Regions from separate parts of the Homo sapiens genome. Here region 2 is linked to region 1. Evidence: promoter capture Hi-C in 16 types of primary human blood cells and fetal thymus (Javierre and others, 2016). All regions are on one chromosome and are shown on one strand. Each heading gives the region's core, a stretch centred on a gene start or on the middle of the fragment in contact. The rest is flanking DNA. Distances are from core to core; before and after follow the strand shown.

What was found. Contacts are between HindIII fragments. The CHiCAGO score rates a contact against its expected background, and 5 or more counts as called.
Region 2: a fragment that was not itself captured here is called in contact with the fragment with the promoter of CNOT1 in region 1 in 1 of 17 cell types (non-activated CD4 T cells); the score reaches 8.1 in non-activated CD4 T cells.

What each region holds. Positions count from the first base shown.
Region 1 is chr16:58,628,445-58,631,148 of GRCh38, forward strand. CNOT1 (CCR4-NOT transcription complex subunit 1) reads right to left here and starts at 1,382. Exons shown (of 49, transcript NM_016284.5): 1 at 1,284-1,382. RefSeq lists enhancers at 459-1,135, 1,136-1,811, 1,260-1,469, 1,760-2,249. The HindIII fragment of the contact is 12,291 bases long and covers 380-2,704 here.
Region 2 is chr16:57,738,414-57,741,117 of GRCh38, forward strand. All of the region lies in intron 2 of KATNB1 (katanin regulatory subunit B1), which reads left to right. Among named protein-coding and RNA genes, the nearest start is that of KATNB1, 4.0 kb to the left of the region's middle. The HindIII fragment of the contact is 6,249 bases long and covers 1-2,704 here.

The DNA of each region.
Region 1 (2,704 bases), core at 132-2,631:
GTTCTTAATCTGTTTGACCTTCCTCCTAATATTTTACTTGCCTTCCCTCATTTTTTTAATCCATGTATTCCCTATTCCTATCAAAGGGGCTGTCATAAGGAAAACGTTCGGCATTGTTTCAAACAGTATAATTATATTCACTCAATCACTGACTTAAAAAAAAAAAAAAACCCAAGTAGTCACAGGCTATCGAATTGTAGAGAAATCGGCAGGGTAGGTTAAGCATTGTTACTCAGTTTTCAGGAAGAAAACAGACTTTATTAGAGTCCTAAGAAATGTGACATTTGATTAACTTCATGGGAAAAGTTTGTCATAAAGTTTATTTTAAATACAACATTTTCAAACGCACAGATGTCAAGCATTCTTTTTTAATCTACAAAGCTTACTCCTCGGGGAGTTAGTATCTGTGAGCCCTCTTGGGTGAATTCTGCAAAGGAGGTGGTACTGAAAAAGTATTATTTGTGTTTGGCCTTAAGTACCTCTACAAGACCTGCCGTGGATCTTATCAGCCTTGAGGCCTACAAGTGCTCAGCTCACTAGCGGGACACTTGTCCTGGGTGAGCAGGACCGCCACTACTGCAGACACCGGACCGAGTAGGTGGGGGCCAACTTCAAAGAAAGTGTGAGCGCCCAGGCGCGCGAGTGGAACAAAACCTGTAGCAAGTAATAAGGAAGTGCTTGCTCCCGCCCGCCCTTCCCATCCGGGGACACCCGAAACCTGGGGGGCTTTGACAACGTGCTGGGGGCGTAAGACGGGGAGAGTGGCAGCTCCGAGTACACGGAGAAGAACTGGAAACATGCAAAAACTCCAAACACGGTCCCCCCCGCCAGAAGCCCTAGGCCTCGGAAGCCGATGCCCACTGCAACCATCAGGGAGCAGAGACAGAAACAGTAGTTAAGGAGGTCGTGGAGGTCTCAGAGGGGTGCAACCCGCGCGAAGCCAGGCCCAGCGACACGAACTGCCGCCGCTGCCGCCCCCTGAGCCTCCAGGCCCGGGACAGAGACCACCATGGGTCTCACCCCGCGCTCTACCCTCCGCTTCCTGGAGCCTTCTCGCTGGCCTCTCATCTTCAGAGCGCGAAGCCTCCGAGAGCCGTGTGGAGAAGAGTCCGCCCTCTCCCGCCTCGTCCCACTTCCCCGTCCCGGCTGCCTCTCACTCCCTAGAGCTCCGGGAAACGCTTCCAGTGGCCCCAGGTCCACCCCTGTTCCTCCTCCCACCGGCTCTCGCGTTCCCAAGCTGACACCGCCACCCTACCCTAGCCCCTGACGCCAACCCGCCTCACCTCAGGCGGCTCCGGCAGCGCTGGACACAGGAAACTCCTGGGTCCCCGACTCCGGCTCTCCTCGACCCCCTCTTCGGTTAACTCCGCTTGTTTCTCTACAAAATGGCGCCGGAGGTCGCGCGCTCACGTCGCGGCCTTTCCCCTCCCCGTTCCCATTTCATCATTCGCTGCCCGCCCGAGGAGGGATGGCCCCAGAGCCAGCCAATGGCCGCGCCCCGCCTGTGGCTTCTACCCAATCACCGACAGGTGCCCGCGGATTTAAACCAATCACACTCTATCACTTGCAGAAGTCGAGGAAGAAATCAGGCTCCTGCTAGCAACTACCAATCCGGCCTCCTACTTCGCGGACTTTGGCCAATTGCCGCTCACCAGGCCCAGGGGACCGGAGTCAGAGCCCTCGCGCCTGCGCTCGAGGCGAGGGCCAATAGGGAGAGGCTGATAACTTCGATTTGGGGCTTCACGTACTTCCCACCTGCCCTGGAGGGCTGCGACCAGTGGGGCTTGGCATTGCCTTTGAGGAACAATAAATTATGGAAGGGGCCCATAACTCCTCGCCACCCTGCGCGGGAACTACTTTGAATTACAGTGAAACAGCTTTCCTCCACTTTCCTTCCTCTTTCGAAATGTCACGGTCCAGTAGACTTCGGGGATTCCCAACCGAAACAATCCCCTCCCCTAGTGTCCCTTTGGCGGGGAACGCCAGCCAGAAAGCAAGCCAGGTTGTGACTAGAGTTGGGGCGCTTTGCATCCTGGGATGTGTAGTCGCGCTCCTCTACCCCGTTCCCATCGCAGAAGTAATGCGTCTTCGTTCGTCGCTGCGCCCTAGAAGGAGCAGTGCATGCTGGGGGTTGTAGTCACCCAGGTGGCCACCTTGTCCTCGCTTGCTTCGCTTTGGTCAAGGGAACTTTCTGTTTTAGTTCTGTCTATTGAAGAAGGGACACCTTCCAGAGACGCCTTCCAGAGACGTAGGAGACGCAAGTTCTCTTCCTGGCTTAAGTCCTAGAAGCCGTCTAAGAAAGGATACCCATGTCCTTTGCTCTCAAGAGAAAAAGCATAGAAACATATTTTGCTATGGTTTGTTTGTTAACTATGATAGTTGGTAAGATTTTATACTCACCTGTACCCAAAAGAGAAAGGATTGGGAAGGAAGTGTTGACTGGTTAGCTCTATTACCTTTTGAAATTAAGGCCGGGCGCGGTGGCTCACGCTTGTAATACCAGCTCTTTGGGAGGCTGAGGCGGGTGGATCACGACGTCAGGTGATCGAGACCATCCTGGCTAACACGGTGAAACCCCATCTCTACTAAGATACAAAAAATTAGCCGGGCGTGGTGGCGCACACCTGTAATCCCAGCTACTTAGGAGGCTGAGGCAGGAGAATCGCTTGAACCCGGGAGGCGTGGGTTGCAGTGAGCAGAGATC
Region 2 (2,704 bases), core at 62-2,561, 890 kb before region 1:
CCCGGCTAATTTTTGTATTTTTAGTAGAGACGGGGTTTCACCATGTTGGCCAGACTCGTCTCGAACCCCTGACCTCAGGTGATCCACGTGCCTCAGCCTCCCAAAGTGCTGGGATGACAGGCATGAGCCACCATGCCTGGCCAAGACTCCACACTTTTTAACCATGAATTTAACCATAAGACTCTGGGCAAAGCTCTTTGCAGGGCCTCTGTTTCCTTGTTTGTAAAGTGAGAGGTTTGGGCCATTTTCATGTTGTTCCCCAAAACTCTAGGGCTCTGGGAGAACCCTGTTATGGTTCCCCAAGGAAGGCACACTTTGGTCAGAGTGGCTTTGTAATTATTGGGATTACGTATTCATCCCTTCGACAGCTGGCCTTTCCCCAGAGCTAGGCACTGGGGAGCCACTGGGGGACAAAGTAGTCAAGGTCTCTGTACAGCGGGAGCTCAGAGCCTGGGGAGAGCAACAGGCAGGAACTGGATAACCGTATCCCTCTGTGTCTCCTCTAGTTGCAAGCTGGTGCCTGTGCTTTGAATCAGTTAGCTGGGGGGTAGGGGTAGGGGTGGGGTGGGAATGCTGCAGGCTGCATGAACAGCAAGTGCAAAGGCCCTGAGGCAGGAGGCTCAGTGTATTGGAAGGACTCAAGGGAGGCCATGGGCAGTGGCACAGCAGCAGGAGGAATGTGGGGCCGCACGGACCTACTGAGTTCTCAGGACCCCAGCCCTCCTGAGGCTGCCGTGCTTTATCATAAAGGCAAGGCCAAGCCATCAGTGTGTGCGAGCAGGAGGTAATGAGATCAGGCGTATTGGGCATCTGCTGCTGCTGCTGATTTCATGTGCACGGTGGTGTCCGTGGGAATCAACTCTGAAGAGCCCAGGGCCACGTGACCTCTGGCTCCTTGTGGCTCCAGGGTCTGGTGAGGATCAGAGGTGCGTGGCCCACATGAGGTCGTTGAAACCTAGTACTTTGTATCTTGCATTTGGGATGCTGATCCTCAGCCCCTCTGGCCACGCCGCACCATGTTCCCCAGCTTTGGCTGGATGTGGGGCCCAGGTTGTACTCCCAGAGCTTGGCCTGCCAGTAGACACTGAGGATTTTTATTTTTTATTTTTGGTATGAAAATCAAGTATTCGGCCTGGGCTGTTGGTTGCTGTCCAACAAGCCAGGATGAAGGAGGAGCTCTTGGGGTGGTGCCCCGTGCCTCCTTTGCAGGTGCCTGTGCTGTGTCCCTGCCCCTCTGCCCTCCCTCTGTGGGCTCCAGTCAGTCCCTGGTCAGGCTGCTTAGAGGGGAGTGATGTGGGCTCCTCCAGAAGGGCCCAACTTCTAAATCTTTCTCACTCCAAAGTCTGCGGTTTTGCCAGCTCAGTGTCCCGCCCCCACCACCATCTGATTATACTGGGGCATATTTCGTGCAAGGCCTAGAACAGGCACCCAGGAAATACTGATATTATGAATGAATGCCCCTGACTCCAGGGGCAGCAGTCCTGAGGCCCAGTGAGGTGGGGCCCAGCCAGACACTTTCCCTGGGAGGAGTGAGGGCCAGGGGACAGACAGAGCCCTCCAGGTAGGCCAGGGGGAGCGAGCAGTGCCTCCACGGAGAGGACACCAGGCTCGGGCACGGAATGCCAGGGAGAAGGTGCTTTGCCCTCTTTCTGGGTCAGGTGGAAACCTTGAACAGACACGTCTGTGGCTGGAATTCCTCAGGTTTCTGTCCCGACAGTGTCCAGAGGACAGAAGGCTCTCATCGAGACGGGACTAAAGTGGGGCCCAGCTCCCTGGGATCCCCATGGCGAACTCCCAGCGCCCTGGCCCAGGTTTGGGCCCACAGGGAACCCTCGCCCTTGCTGGCGCTGCTGCCTGTGCTGGCTCTGCCCCGACCGGCCCAGGAGGCAGGGTGTCATCAGTGAGATTCAGCCTGCGACTTGTCCCCTGGGTATTCCTGGTGGCCCCTTGGAGCCCAGGTTTCTGGCAAGCAGCTTCCCTGGGCCCAGTTTCCCAACCTCCTTGTGGTCTGAAGCCCGCAGCAGAGACACCCAGGCAGGGTGGAGTCGGAGCTGGGGTGCAGGAGGGGCCTCTGTGGAGCGCCGTGGCTCCAACACCCTTTTCCTTGGCGTCACCCACGCTGGCCTTCCGGGTGCCTCGGGGCGTCAGCACCTTGGGGTTTTCCCCTGGCCTGTGTGGGGAGAACTGTCTTTTTTCTCCCTTCTTTCCAGGAGGAGCTCATGCAGGGATGGGTTCTGAGGCCCGGGCCGCCTCTTGGTTCCCTGCCTGTGCTTTGCTCCCTGCGGAGTCCTCCGAGGCTCCTGTCTGCCATCTCCACGGACCAGGCCAGGGCCTTGGGCTGTCTGCACAGGCTCCTCCTCTGTGTGGTCAGCCCTCACCCCCACCCCAGCTGCTCAGTCTGTTGCCTCCTGCCCCCTCCTCATGAAGCCCACCCTCTGGTGCCCGCCCAGGCCCCCATGCCCACTCTCTCATGGTGACTAGCCCCGAGCCTGCCCAATGTCACGGAGCCCTCGCCTGCTACTAAGCAGCACGTAGGCGCGCTCTGAGGGAGTCCTCAGCATCAGGTGTGAGCAGACACCACGGGCATCCCCACTTTCCAGACGAGGAGCCAGGCCCTCAGAGGACAAGTGACCTAGTAGCCAAGGCCACGCAATAGCAGATCACAGACCTCAGACCAGAACCTGATCCGTGATTGTGAATCTGA